Linked DNA regions of Homo sapiens: region 2 is linked to region 1. The links are contacts of gene promoters, found by promoter capture Hi-C in blood cells and fetal thymus (Javierre and others, 2016). All regions are on one chromosome and are shown on one strand. The core of a region is centred on a gene start or on the middle of the fragment in contact, and the rest is flanking DNA. Distances in the headings are between cores, read along the strand shown. Region 1 holds the start of TAFA5 (TAFA chemokine like family member 5). Region 2 has its middle 27 kb from the start of LINC01644.

Evidence for each region. Contacts are between HindIII fragments. The CHiCAGO score rates a contact against its expected background, and 5 or more counts as called.
Region 2: a contact is called between a fragment that was not itself captured here and the fragment with the promoter of TAFA5 in region 1, in 1 of 17 cell types (naive B cells). The highest score is 6.3, in naive B cells.

The regions. Positions count from the first base shown.
Region 1 is chr22:48,486,668-48,494,308 of GRCh38, reverse strand. TAFA5 (TAFA chemokine like family member 5) reads right to left here and starts at 4,756. Exons shown (of 4, transcript NM_001082967.3): 1 at 4,605-4,756. The coding sequence starts at 4,716. RefSeq lists an enhancer at 2,173-2,678. The HindIII fragment of the contact is 4,041 bases long and covers 2,364-6,404 here.
Region 2 is chr22:47,510,004-47,517,644 of GRCh38, reverse strand. No RefSeq gene overlaps it. Among named protein-coding and RNA genes, the nearest start is that of LINC01644, 27 kb to the right of the region's middle. The HindIII fragment of the contact is 6,744 bases long and covers 899-7,641 here.

The DNA.
Region 1 (7,641 bases), core at 3,507-6,006:
GGAGCCCTTCTAAATCGGCGCAGATGCGAGCCTATATAAAGAAATGGGGATTTTAATGTTTTGCTTTTCTTCCCTTTTCTAGTGCCACATTATCATAACATTTTCCCATAATTACGCCCATAAAAGTCACCTGAAAATGCTTCATGCCACAAAAGTTGATCTACATATTTCATTCCGAGCATGTCGAGTGGCAGATCCTGAGCTCAGAACTCTGGGGCAGAACTTAGCTGGGGAGCCTGGTATGGAAGAGACCCATCAGGTGGAGCCTCCTTCTTGGGTTCAAGTGTCCTCTGGCCTCAGGGAGGTCCAGCAGGGACACCTGTGTGGACAGTGGAAGAGTGGAGACCCCCCTTCTGGCCCTATCTCAGTGAAAGAGCAGGGGTGGAAGGTGGGAGGGGACAGTGGGGCACCGCCAGGATCACCAGGAGTAAATGCGGCTCTCCAGGGCACTGTCTAGAGCCGCTGGGAAGTCCCTTCCCCCAGGGGTCCCTTCGGAAGTCCCTTCCCCCAGGGGTCCCTGCGTGGGAAAATCCTGTGAGGGGACAAACCTGCCTCTTCCTCACTGAGCCTAGGGCATGGATGTCGGCTAAAAGAAATCCCAGAGACAGATAATTTATATTTATGGAGCTGAAAAAAAACAAACATCCCATCTTCTTGTGCCCCAAATTCATCAAATAAAAACACAGTGAGAATTTTTTCAAAAAAAGATGAGAAATAAACTTCTGAACGGCACCACTTCATTAAGCCTCCACTGTTTTCCATTTTACCTCTTCGAGAACTCCAGAACAAAATTTGAACAGCAGGAAAGTAACATATTCTAATCGCTCCTAAATATGCAATAAATTGTATTTATAAAGGAAATGCAACACTACAGTGCCTACGCTCAGTTAGGATTCTAATGGATTCAAAACAATTCCAAAGTTGTTTGTAATTTCTTCTCATAGTTATAGATGAGGACATGAGATTTAACTGGAAGGTACAGCTCAATATTGACGGGATTTATTTGGAAATTTCCATGTCCAGCACATAGTGAACCTGTCTGTCTTCCTCACTCTCCCTGGTACGCTGAAATATAGTCTGGGTCCCCACCATCCACCTGCTCGTGCTGAATAGGGCACATGGAATCTAGGCTAGTGCAGAGTGTCCTTCACCTTTGATTTCAACGCTGCACACAAGGACCGAGTCAGTGCTTAGGTGTCATAGGGAGTTGCCCCAGGTCCTCATTTGCTTCTCTCCCTTGCTGCTGTTCTATCCTAGATGCCAGGGTGGAAAGATCACATCTTCAGCGGCGGGCACAGAACACCCTCAACCAGCTCTAGCTGGGTCAAGAGGTCCCATTCCACATCTAGGCAAGAACCACATCTAGGCAGACAGACTTCTCTACTCCAAATACGCTAAGGGGAAAACAACCTATATCAACTCTTTTTAAGCCACACCCAGAGAGGTTTCCTCAGACCAGAATGGAGAAGAGCTTCAACTTCCCCATCAAAGCTCATCATCATGCAAGTCAACTTATTACCAACCATCCAACAACCCTCATGGGCAGCACCGGCCGCGGAGGAAACCAAGCCTGCTGTCACCGTGATGGTCGCAGACCACCGAGCATGCATTTTAAAGTGAGCCATCCAGGGCCCCTTTCCCCTGTTTGCGTCTCCTGGCACTTCTTCCCCAGGAGGAGAAAATGACAAGGCTGTGTCACTATAGCAACTAGCCTAATTGGTGGACTGCAGGTCTTTCTCCGGCCAGACGGTGGAGCCCATCTCCTTCTATATGGATCCCAGCACACGAGAAAGAAAGAAGGCCGGACTCTCACTGGGCCAAGAACAGTAGAATCCCCCCAACAGAAAACCAGGCCAAGAAAGAATCCAGTTTCCTCCTAGCTGCACTAGGAAGCCAGCACCTTATGTGTTGCAGAGAAACACACAGATTTAATAGGCAGGATAATTGAACGCTGTATGATACTTATCAGTTTCCCTAATTAATATGATACAAATATATCTGCTTCATAACACAAAGACATTTTGAGTAATAAAAATCCTTACTGATGACAAAAACAATTTACAAACGAGAATACGAACTATTCTTCTTCATCCCAGATCTATTGGAAGAAAGAATGAAAATCCTAGGAACTGTTTAATTTGCATTTAATTTGCTTTATCGGTTCTGAAAAAAGGGGGGGGGATTTTTTTTCTCTAGGACTGCAGTTCCAAGCTATAAATTATTATTATGTCTATTTTGTATTTTAGTGAAATGTTTTAATTTCTCCAAGTACATTTCTGGTGTAATGGGGTGTGTCTCTTATTGTCAATTATTCCATTACATGGAGATGGAAACAGCCATAAAAAATGTGCTTCACCCAAGCTTCTGTTATTAATTATTTCTGCTACTCTGGTAAGACCTTCTTACCAATTGTCCTTGTCCTGGCGAAAGGCTGTTTCCAGAACGCTGGGGAGGCCTCCTAAGGAGGAGGGATGAGTGTGGAAACCAGATCTCCCATCCTCAGCGTGTCTAAGCAGCAGGCTCAGATGTCTGTGCTGGGACACCAGGACTCCACTCGGCAGAGCAGGCGACAGTCTCAGGAAGGTGTGAGCCCGTCCGGATGAACAACGTGCTGACACCTTAGGATTCAGGATGCAGCGCAGGGTGGGAGAGGGCTGACGCTGCGTGTCTTGAGACAGTGTGTACCGCGCTCCTCGCGGGCTCGGGAAGTGCGGTGTTGAAGCCACAGGGCCCTGGTGTCAAGTACTTCGCAACAATTAGCAGTTGTTCTTTTCCACACCTGCTGAGCTGCTGGGGGTTGGGGGTGAGGTGTTGTCCTGGGTTCTAGCAGCCAGCCAGGGATGGGCCGCCTGTAGTGGGCTCAGGGCACTACAGCCCCTCCCCAAACACTGCTGAATGAGCCCCCTCTCCCTCTCCTCTCCTCTCTCTCCTCTCCTCTGGGGTGATGCCACCAGGAAGTGCATTCAAATGCCTCCTCTTCCGCACAGAGTTTACCTGCCATTAACCCTTTCTACATCTCCTAGGAAGCCTTGCTTGGGGATCTTCTAGGGAATCCCCCCACATACCCCTGCAGGCCCCGTGACGGCCGCGGAAAACTCGGGGGCAGGCACAAATGTCGCTCAAACCCCCAGACCCTGCTCCCTGCAGGCGGCCAGCCAGTGAGTTCCCAGGGGCGCCGGCGCACCCACGGTGGCCTCGTCTGCCTGGGCAGCTCGGGTTGAGACCCCCAGGCTTGGCGACCCCTCCCCGCTCGGTGCCACAGCATTTCTAGGGAAATGCATAACCGCGCTGAAGCAAGTAGGAAAATTCCTGCTCTGGTCCCCGGGTTTCCCTTGCGATCCTGGCGAGCTGGGCTGTCCCAGGACTCCGGAGGCCGATCCCGCGGCTGCCCGGGTCTCCCTGGGCCACTGTGCTCTCATTTTGGCGACAGCGGAAGGATCAGATCGGACTGGGAGCTTGGAGGCCCGGGGCTCTGGAGGAGGTGGTGTCTGTGGAGGGAGGTTCGGTGCTGGCCTTTTTTTTTTTTTTTTGTAAAGAATCCATATTTTTCCATCACCTCCCGCGCCCATGGCAATTCTCCATGACAGGTGCTCCCCAGCACCCGTCCTATTCTCCCGCTGAAGACAAGAAGCCCGGAGCTCCCGGAGCTGAAGCCGACCAGCCCGCGCCATCTGGGGCCAGAGCCTGTGCCCGGGACGCTGAGCGGCCCCCACTTACCCCACCAGCCGCGAACGTGCCCCGGGATGCTGAGCACCCTCCCCAGCGCCGAGGCTGGAGTCTGCACCCGGGACTCCAACCACCCCTCATTCCACCCGCCTGGAGCCTCGGCAGGGGCACAGGCCACCCCCCACCCTTCACTCCAGGCAACAGGGAGCCCGCGGCGGTCACCCCCTACCCCAGCCCTCAGCTCACGCCCGGGCGCCCACTGGCCCGCACCACCCCAGCCCGCGCCCGCGCCAGTCCCGCCGGTCACCAGCTCGGGCCCCAGACACGACCCGAGAAACGTCCGCGGCCGCGGCGAGCCCCCTCCGGGCATCCCATCCCTCACTTCGCTTCTCTTTCCAGAAGGCGCCTGACGAGCCCGTTTCCCGGGAAAGCGGAAGCTCCAGCTGCTCCTCCGAGCCCAGGCTGGGCTCCTGCCTGAAGAGCTCCTCTCCGGGCTCGGCCGCCGCCTCCCCCCTTGTCCCGGGCTGAGGCACGGGGAGGGCGCTCCGCAGACACCCCGGCAGCGCCGCCCGCCCTCCGCGACCTGCGGCTGCCTCCTGAGCGCGCATCTCGGCCGGGAAGCCGCTGGCTGGGCTCCGACCGCCGGGCAGGGACGGGCCGCGCCACCCGGGGCCTGGAGCCCGGGCCCTGCCGGGGAGTCAGGGAAGGGAGGCTCGGGCCGGGGCGTCCGACCCCGAAGTGCTCGAGCGCCCGGAACCCGGGTGGACCCTCTCGCCCGCCCAGCGCAGCGTTGGACCGGCCGGGACTCGGGGGACCATGCGCCCGGCGCTCGTAACTCCGCGCCGACTCCGGGAGGCCCGCGGGGCGCCTGCCGGGGCCGGAGGAGGGGGTCCGGGGCCCAGAGGGCCGTGCCGGGGCCGGGGCCGCGCGGTACTCACTGCAGTAGGCGATGAGCAGGCTGGCCAGGATCATGAACGCCCAGAAAGTTGAGGACATGCTGGGCAGGGCGGTCGCATCTTGCCGGCTGCCGGTCCTGGGCGATGGCGCCATTGAAGCCGCGGCGCCCGCGCGGGGGGCAGCAGCGCGTCTCAGCAGCCGGCCCTGCCCGCGCCCCCGCGCCGGCCTCCACGTGCGGGCCCCGCGCGCGCCATCCTCCGCCGCCGCCGCCGCCGCGCCCGGGCCCCGGCCCACCGCGCCCCGCGCCGCGCCCGCGCCGCCCGCGCTCGCGCCCGCGCCCGCCGACCCCGCGCCGGCCCGCCAGGGGGACGCCGGCCCCGCTCTGGGCGTCACTGCGCGCCCCGGCTACGCGCGCCCCGGCATCCGCGAGAGAGGCGCGCGCCCGCCACCGCTGGGGGCTCCAGCCGCCCGCCGACCCGGGCCTGGCAGAGGGGACGCGGCGCCCAAGCCGCTCCTCCGGATGGCGACAGAGACGGCCTGACGCGCCCGCAGCCTGGGCCCCCCACGGGGAGGACGGCCGGGCCAGGTGAAGTTCGCGCACTTGGGCCTTCCGCGCCCCCATCCACCGCAGCCAGGGCCTGGAAGGCTGGGGAGGGGGCGGGGGCGGCAGACGCCTCCTAAGGTGGGTTCTGGGACTTGGATCCGGAGTTTATTCCAAGGAGAGGGTGCTCTGGGCCTGTTCCCTAGGTGTGCCCTGTTACCCAAAATCGGGCTTGTGCAGTGGGGTCCCTGAGTCCACTGGGAGCACAGCCTCAGACCCCAGCAGAGTCACCCTTCATCGGAAGCCCACCACCCTGAGGGCTCCTCCTCCACCTGGGGCGGCACTGCCAGGCACAGGCACGCACTTTCCCTCAGTCCTCTGCCCCACGATCACTCTACTCGGGCACCTCTGCCACTGCCTGGTCCTTGCTGAGCCATCTCCTGGTTCATCTCCCTGGAGTCCCTGCAGGACCGGCTCTCAGTGGCGTCTCCGGGCTCCCAGTCCCAGGACTGGTCCTATCCAGGTGGGTTTTCTGAGCAGGATGACAATGATCGCAATCTATTTTACCTGCATAGTCAACGATCATCTGCAAGACAGGTTCACTCCTATAACAAGCAAAGGATGGGGGGAAAATGAGCCTTGTAAGGACACAAGGACACTTTCCCCATCTCCAACCCTCCTAGTCATGTCCCCTCTGCACCTCCCTCTACAGCCCAGGAGATACGCTCCCCAGTCCAGGATGTCCAGATGGCCCTGCTGCCTGGAGAGGCTCTGGCCCCTGCCGGTAGCTGCCACAGCACCACCCCAAGCTCTGCCTTCCTGCAGGTTCGTGCACACGACTAATAGAACCCCTCCTCTGGAACTCACAAGATATTCTCCATCCTGCATAGGGCTGGGGGCTTGAGCACCCCAGGAGATTCTTTTGGCGCTGGAGACCCTTTTCTGAGGAGCCAGTAGAGGGCCTGCAAGTCAGATTGAGCAACCAGGGAGAAGAAGCATCATCCCTTCATCTTGAGGCCTGGTCCAGGGAGGTGAAGGGATGTGGACTGTCCCCAGCCGTACACTCACCCACAACTCATGCATGCAAGCATTCATGCCCCAATGCACACACAGCACCACACACACACATATTTTCCTTGAATCTCTCTCTCTCTCTCTCACACACACACACACACACACACACACACACACTCTCCCATCCACACACACACAACACTTTAGGAGAAACTGAGCAAAGAAAGGCAGCCTCTCACTGCGAGTCCTCTAACCCCCGTCCCAGTGGTTGTTGTGCACTGAAGCTTCCTTGCCAGGGGCTCTGACGGGATTCTTGTGTTAATATGATTGTGTCCATGCTTGTTTTCTCCCATCAATTTTGAATCCTGTTTAATTAAAACGCTGACTTTCCTGTTTAGTATCTTCTCAACTGCAGCTTCTCCCCGCTCTCTTTCCTGGCAGGGAGGTGATTCTGCAGAAGTTGGGGCTCCTGACAACTTTGGGGTGGCCATGAGGGACGTACCTCTTGCCTCTGGATGTGCAGGGTGGGCCTGGGACCCTGGCAGGGAGGGGCTCCCTCAATGGGATTCTGTGGAGTCAGCCATTGATGCCCAGGTCTCCACCCTTACAATTTCATTCCTTTCATTGAAGCCTTTTTTCCTGCTAAAAAGGATGTGGCTTTTAAAATGTTACAGATTCCAATTCATCCTGTCCATCCCGAACTCCTGTGCCAGACATTCCTTCATTCAACCTCTGTTTATTGAGCAACTACTTGGGCCAGGCACTGGGACTGGGGAAGCCAACAAGACATAGATTTTCTGTCCCCCTGGAAAGTGACAGTCAGTTTGAGAAACAGACAAGGAAACAAACAATTCCAGTGCAGTGTGGCAAGCGTCACGATGGGAGGGAGAGGAGAGCACTCTTGGAGCACAAGAGAGGAGCATTTACCCTAAAATCACACTCTAGAACACAGCAAGGTGTGTGCCAGGGAAGGCTTCCAGGAGACTGGTTTCCAGGCCCTTTTGGTCCATCCTTAGGACAAACACACACACACATGCACACATATATGCACATACATGAACACACACACGCACGTGAACACACAGGCACACACATCCACACACACGCACATACATGCACACACATGCTTTAACACACATGCACACACGCATGCACAAACATGCTTGGAGTGAAACTTTCCGAAGCAATATTTACCCCAAAAATACTCTGATGTTTTCTATTGTATCCTAATTCATTTTTGAAATGCTGGTTGCCCTCCCAATAATTTGGTTTATAGTAATTTTCTTTCTTTAAAAAATATGGTTTGAAGAGAGATGCAGTCTACCTTGACTTTGGGAGGGTATATTGGAGGCTTCTTGCCAAAGGACAGGGGCTGTGGTGACAATGGGGTGGCTGGGGAGGGCTCCCAAGCAGAGGAGAAGGGGTGCAGTGCGGTACCCGGCCTGCTGTATCCAGGAACTCAGACACTGAGGTTTTTGTGCTCGCAACATTAGGGCTATGGCGGGGAACCTTGGGCTATGGGA
Region 2 (7,641 bases), core at 3,021-5,520, 980 kb after region 1:
CCACTCAACACCAGCCTCTGGCCATCACTGACCTACTTTCTGTCACAATAGTTTTGCTTTTACTAGATTTGTGTTTCATTCTGTTTTGTGGTTCATGTTTGCTGATGTTTATTGATTTTCTTGTTTTTATTACAAAGAATAAGCTCTCGAATATATTCACCAACTCTACGCCTTTTCTATCTTCTATACCACTTGTTTCTGCTTGTATCTTTATTATTTAATTTTTTTTCTGCTTTTGTAACATTGTTTTTTGTGGTTTTCTATGTGTTTTCATTAAAAGTCAGAAATAGATTGTTAGCAAGAATGACTATAACAATGGCCCTGTCTGTATCCTTGCCCTTGGGTAGTCCCTTCCCACACTGACTCTGGGCTTTCCCATGTGACTTGCCTTGGCCCACAGGTTAATAAGAAACATGACACAGAGACTTGAAAGCGCTTCTGTACTGGAACTTGCTCTTTGTTGCTGCACTTGGAACCCTGAGACCATCATAAGAATAAACCAAAGCTGACCTGCTAGAGAAAGAACACACAAAGAAGAACTAATGTGCCCCAGCCAACAACCTGCCCACCACTAGATATGTAGATAAGGTGATTTTAGATCAGCTATCTAGATAAGGCGATTCTCGATCAGCTATCCTGCCCACCAGCTGACCAGACATATGAAAGAACCAACAGAAACCAGCCACACCAACCCAGATCAAAGGAATGACGCAGCCGTCCAGCAGAGCTCAACCTAGTGGTTGCTTTAAACCAGTAAGTTTTGGGGTGCTTTGTTATACACCCAAAGCTGACAAATATAATTGCTATATTTATAATGTCATTTTCTGTTTTAGATAATAAAGTAATTCCTGCTTATGCATTTTCCCTTGAGGATTGTTCTGGTCGAATGCCATAAGCTTGGGTACATAGCGTTCAACATAGTCTATAATTGAAATATTGGCTTCTTTCTTTCTTTCTTCTTCTTCTCTTTGCTAATAGTTAAGAGAACATTTATATTCCATCTTTCTAAAATCGTCTTATTATTCTCTGGCTTTATGACATTGTAGCTTGCAAAAGTAATCTGAACAATTTCTGCTTTTTATAAGAGATTGCTGGTTTTTATGGTTTAAGAGTTCATCAAATTTTATAAATGCTTCAACAGCTCTGGAAAAGAAGAGATATTCTCTACATGATTCATATTTCAGTATGTCTCCAATCAACCTTTCCCAGCATGCACATTACATAGGGACAGGGGATGGTTTCACACTGCTGTGCCCCAGCACACAAACATTGGCCGGCACATAGTAGGCACTCCATTAGTATTTATTTGAGGAGTGAATGCATAAATTATCCTAATTAATGACAATTAGATCCTATATTGCCTTAATATGAGTCATTATTTATAATTTATTATGATGATTTATCTTACATGCTACAAAGGGAAACAATTGTGTAAATAATTTTGTTACCATTGTGCTATTGCCAGTCTCTCCATGTCTTATCTAATACTCTTTATTACTATTATACATAATGATCTGTTGTTCACAAAGTTTTCTGTGTCTGTGAGTTTAGCTTTTATCTCTGTAAAATCATAAGCTCTGCTTTGTGATGTGTCTTGTCATGAATTCTTCTTTGATATTAATATTGGAATGACTGTGAATCTTTTGCCTGATCTATTATTGCCCCTCAATGGCAGAAATGGGTAGGTGACCACAGATACCATTCTCTCTTTCATCCTTGGTGAAAAACAAAAACACTTATATGTAAGACATCAGGGTGTCCAGCTCAATAGCTCCATCTACCCTTAAGCAGGGATAGTCATGTGGCTTTCTGGCCAAGGAGACAGAAGAAGTTGTTGAATGGGACCTAGGGAAGGGCATCCACTAGCAGGGCATCATTGTGTTCCCTTCTTTCCCCTGCTGCCCTCCAGTTCCCACAGTCATCTTGGACTCCAGGACCCTGTGAGGGTAAAGGCTAAGGGATCAGTAAGTGACTGTGAAGCCAGGACAGAGAAGCAGGGATATCATCTCCAGCAGCGTCATGAAGAGGCCATACCATCTCCAGAGGGCTGACATCTAAACTTATGTTACATGACTCAGCAAACTCTTATGCTACTCTCTCTTTAAATACATACGTAAATTATGTATATAATGTACAATATTTTTTTCCTTCAGAATTTCAAAAATGATTCTATATTTAGAGAATTCTAATTCTCAGAACAAATCCTGTTCTGCCATCACTTTATCATTATTGAGCTCTTAATTTGTTTCATCTGTTGCTTGACTGGCATATATCTCCAAATGATATCTAAAGAAGGTTACATAGGAATTGTGTGTGTGTGATTGTGTCTGTGGGTGGGGGGGTGGTGATTTTTTTTGTCCCTTCACACTTTAAAAGATCAATCAATCGAATCCAATCAAACCTGATTTCCAAATTACTGGATTATAAAGGTTTTATCTTCAAACCTCGGCAGAAGCAGTGGACACTGTTCTTCCTGACCCTTCCTTCTCTGTAAGCATGTTTTTTTGTAAATAGGTCACAAAATAGAGTCCCAGGAAGAATTGTTAGGACTCCAGGCCTAAGCACAGTTCTCTAAAAAAGCACCTGTGCGTACGACTCCCTCAAGCTGGAAGGCTGGGAGGAGGATTAGGACATAAGGGGTCCCTCCTTTGTTAGGACTTTCTTTCTTAACTCTACCTTAAGCTCACATGGAAACAAGCATCTCAGTAACCAGCGAGGTTCCACAGGTGCACGTAGAGCTGTTCGCATTGGGTGCAGTGGGTCTCATGAGGTATCCAAGGTTCTTCTGCAGGCATAGACTTGCAGTCTTGTATATGTCAGTATTTTGTGAGAAAAATCATTCATTCGAGGATGGGACAGTTCTCTCTGCAGCCAGCAGAGGCAGCAGCCTTGGGCTCAGTGCAAGAGTGTTTTTCATGGACAGGGGACACTGAGACTTCAGGGATCAGGGATCCCTCCTTTATTTCCCAGCCTTCCCAAGTCCACGTCCAATCCTACCTGTCTGGTGTGACCAAAAGACAGGTGTGTTTGCAAAAGTAAAGCAGAAAAAAGAAAGGAACATGTAAGATGCAGCTGATGTCATGAAAGTTAACAAGACCCTTAGAGAGAGAGGCAACCTATGGAAGGACAAAGCCTAGCAATGGCTTCAGGGCTGCGGGTGTGACAGCTTTGCTGGTTTCTCTCTGAGCTCTGAAGACTCTAAGTCTGTCTCCCACAGCCATATGAGCTGGAGAAACCTTAGGCTCCCACCAGGTTCAAGAAAATCAGACAGCAACTTGACCCACTTCCTGGTGGAAGACATTTCCCTGTTGGGTTATGTTCACAGTCCTGGAATCCAGGCAAGTGGAAGAAACTGAATGTCTTCACAAGTTTGAAACCAAGATCCAAGATTTTTTTTTCTGTTCTTTCTTCTTTGCTCTCTGGCTACCACTGTCACCTGCACCATGGCCCACCATAGCAGCAGTGGAGTGCCACTTTCCTTAGTAAACATGGTGGCTGACTGCTTCCAAATCTCAGCCCTGCAGGTGAGAGGCTGCCCAGGGGGCTCTGGGGCATCCTGCTCCCCCTCTGGAGTGTGAGGAGGTGGAACCACTGGAGCCTGGGTTCCCGTTCTCCCCACTGGGAAGAGCTGAAGGAGAAGCGTGACCCCATTGGGACCTGAGGTTCCTATTCTCTTCCACGTGGAAGTGCTGAAGTAATCTGCCCACTCCAGAGAATGTTTTGCAGATGGGTTCCTCACCAATACTCTGAAGGAGACCCTTCTGGCTGAGCTACAGCAGGAATTTCATTTGGGACTACAGTGGTTTGAATGGTGGCCCCAAAGAGATACATCCATGCCTCAATTCCTGAAACCTGTGCATGCAACTGTATTTGGAAATAGAGTCTTCGCAGATGTAATTAAGTTAAGAAATCTCAAGATGGGTGTTCATTTTTCATTAAGGTAGGCCCCAAATCCTTATAAGAGGAAAGCAGATTTGAGGCAGAGACACAGGAGAGAAGGCCACATGGAGATGAAGGCAGAGGCTGGAGTGGTGCAGCCATAAACCAAAAGATGCCAGGAGCATCAGAGGCTGGAGAAAGCAAGAAGGCTCTCCCCTGAAGCATCTACAGGGAGCATGGCCCTGCTGATTCCTTGGTTTCTGACTTCTGGCCTCCAGAATTGTGAGAGAATAAACTGTTGCTTTAAGCCACCATGTTTATGGTTAATTGTTACAGCACATTTAGGAAACTAATTCAGGGACTTCATGCATTGGTGGGAATGTATTAGTAAAAGTGAGTTCAAATTGTTCAAAGCTGGGATAATTTGTGCTGTCATTGGTAATGTTTGTGGAATTATCTCTGATCAGCTATAATAGGAATTAGAATACAGGGTTCATTTGGGGCTTGGCAGGCAGTATGGCCTTGGGGCTATACTAAGCTATACTCTTCTTTGACCCATTTTAGAAACAGTGGAGCACAGTAGCAAGATGGTGGGTGCTGGAACAGGGTCACCTGGTGTAAACCCAACTTTCTGCAAAGCAGGCAGTGGCAGAACCTTGAGCAAGTTAATTAATCATCTGTGTTTCAGTTCTATAAAGTTGGATGGTAGTATTTACCTTGTAATTCAAATAACACACACGAAAAACTTATAAGAATGTCACATCATTATAATTATGATCATTGTCATCAACACCATCACCATCATTATCATCATCACCATCATTAGCACCATCACCATCATCACCATCATCACCACCATCATCATCACCATCATTATCACCATCATCATCGCCATTATCAGTCATCATCATCATTATGATCATCACCATCAACACCATTGTCCTCATCACCATCATCATCATCACCATCACATCTTCATCACCATCATCATCATCACCATCACATCATCACCATCATCATCATCATCATTATTGCCATCATCATCACCATCCTCATCATCATCATCACCATCACCATCATCATCACCATCAGGACCTAAGTTGTTGACAACGTTGGACTTTACCTGAGCCCTAAGCTCCTGGAAAGCAATGAGTATTAGGAAATCATCTCACCCTTTTGTGTTCCAGGAAACTGCTTATGACAAAGAAGATCCCCTCCCCACATGACTCAGATAAGACTCATGGATGCTCCCTTGTTTACCTAAGACAAGGCCAGATACACCCTCCAAATTCTCATTCTGCACCTCTTAATGATAACCTGAACTGTTATCCCACTGATCAGTCAGAACAAAGTACTTGTTAACTGACTTGATTAAACTTTAGTTCAGCTCCTCCACTCCCTCAGGACCCGGAATGTTGAACCTCCTTCAGCCTGAGCCAGCAAACAGCCCCTCCCCAGAATTAGATGACTGCAAGGAAAGACTTTCCCCAACTGATCAACTCTGATCTCACCACCCACTCCCCCACACCCAATTATTTTTTGGCCTTGTCTGGTTCTCCCCATAAAAGAAAGTTTCTTTCCAACAGAACTTTGAGATGCCTGCAGCTATTACTGTCAGATTGTTCCCCCTACTGCAATAGCCCCCTTCCCTTTATCACAATAATCCTTTTGAATGAAGTCTCTCCTTAGTTCAATACACATTTGTTTTCATTTGACACTGTCTATTTTAGTGCTGCCTGTATGAGAAATGCGGAAGTATTGGGTCATGGTCTTCTAAAGAACTCCTCAGATTTATAGAGGTTTCTGGACTGGGAAATGGCTACATAGTCTTGGCTTTTAAGTCCCTCAAAGTTCAAAAGAAAGATATCTTCGTCCATTCAGGCTGCTATAAGAAACCACCATAGGCTGGGTGGCTTGTAAACAACAGAAATTTATTTCTCATCGTTCCGGAGGCTGGAAGTTCAAGGTCAGAGTGCCAGCATGGTTGGGTTCTGTGAGGGCCTCTTCTAGGTTGAAGACTGCCACCGTCTCACTGCATCCTCACATGGTGAAAGGGGCACAGCAGCTCTTTGAAGTCACTTTTATAAGGACATGAATCCCATTCATAAGGGGTCCACCCTCACAACCTCATCACCTCCCAAAGGCCCTGAATCCTAATACCATCAGGTCTCCATTTTCTCATTGCTTCAGCTCCCTTCTCAGTAGACTCAGTTATCAAGGATTTGGGGGACAAGAAGTGGGGGCTACCCTGCTCCAGCTCTCAGAGACACCTGCCCTGGGGACCACCATTCATCCTCCAGCTATCTTTTCTTGCACACGCTGCCCTGATGAGATCCTGCGCAGAGCAAGACTGGCTATAAGGTCTTGAAATTCCTAGGCCTTTGGCTTATTACCATAAAAACCAATTAACACACTTCATAAGCTGCTGGCAGAGGTGGTCCCATTGTCTTTGGGCATTAAATATAGCCAAGGAGAAATGTGAGGCCAAAAGAATGTGTGTTCATTTTGTCATAGTTTCTTTCTTCTCCTGAGATTTTTACCAAGTATTTTTTATCCTTAGAGTTTACAATTTTCACTGGATATGTCTCATTTAAAATGTAATGTGGTAAGCCATTTCTACCTGATAGATGAGCTGTTTCTTCAAGGCAGGAAACTCATCTTCCTTCTCTTCCATGTTTGCTTCAATTCTATGTGTTTAGGTGTTTCAACCAGACACAAATAGCCACATACTGGCTCTCCATCCTTTGTCTACCACATCTCAGGTGTTCTCTCATCTCTTGAACCAGTCTATTTTTTCCCCTTCCCACACTAAGCTGCTGCCCAGGAATTGGTTTGTGAGCAGCCATGTTTTATGTCAAGATATTTATTACCGTCATCATTTGTAGATGAAGCAAGTTGGGAATGGAGAAGTTACGAGCATTGCCTGTCTTAGTCATTTTCTGCTGCTATAACAAAGTACAACAAAATAGGTAATTTACAAACAATGGAGATTTATTTGGTTCACAGCTCTGGAGGTTGTGAAGTTGAAGAGCATGGTTCTGGCATCTGATCAGGGTCATCCCATAGAGAAGCATCATATGATGAGCTAGTGTGAGAGACAGAGAGAAAATGGGGGCTGTACACACCCTCTATCAAGAGCCCACTCCTGTGAAAATCAACCAGCTCCTGCAATAACTAACCCACTCCTACAACAATGACAACAATCCATTAATCATCTCTTCTCAACACTATTACAATGGCAATTAAATTTCAACATGAGTTTTGGAGGGTACATTCAACCCATAGCATTGCCCGGGATTAATTGGCTTATCCAAGCAGTATCAAGATGCTCAAAGGAAAGGAAACCATCAAATTCTCTCAAAATTGACAGAATTGCCATTGCTCCCCATTCTCTCTGGTTTTCCATCCACACTTGAACTAATGACAAACCCAAAACACCATGTCATCTCTTGGTCCAGTGGGAAAATGACCCCCAGGGGTCCACTGTAAATGCCCTGGCCTCTTCTGCTGAAGAACCTCCCATGGGGCTGCAAAGACTGGATTAGGAGGAGCAGAGGGACATTGAGATGACTCTGTCTGTTGTGTATATTGTCCAAGCACATCCAAGGTAATTAATAGGACCCTCTGCCTCTTGCTCCTCCCAGTGCACATATTCTAAAATGTCCTTCCAAACACTAAATGTACCAGACGGTGGCAAAAACAAAAACACCACACAAGTGATAGCTTATAGACTCAACCTGTTTTTCTTTCCCAGGCAGAAGC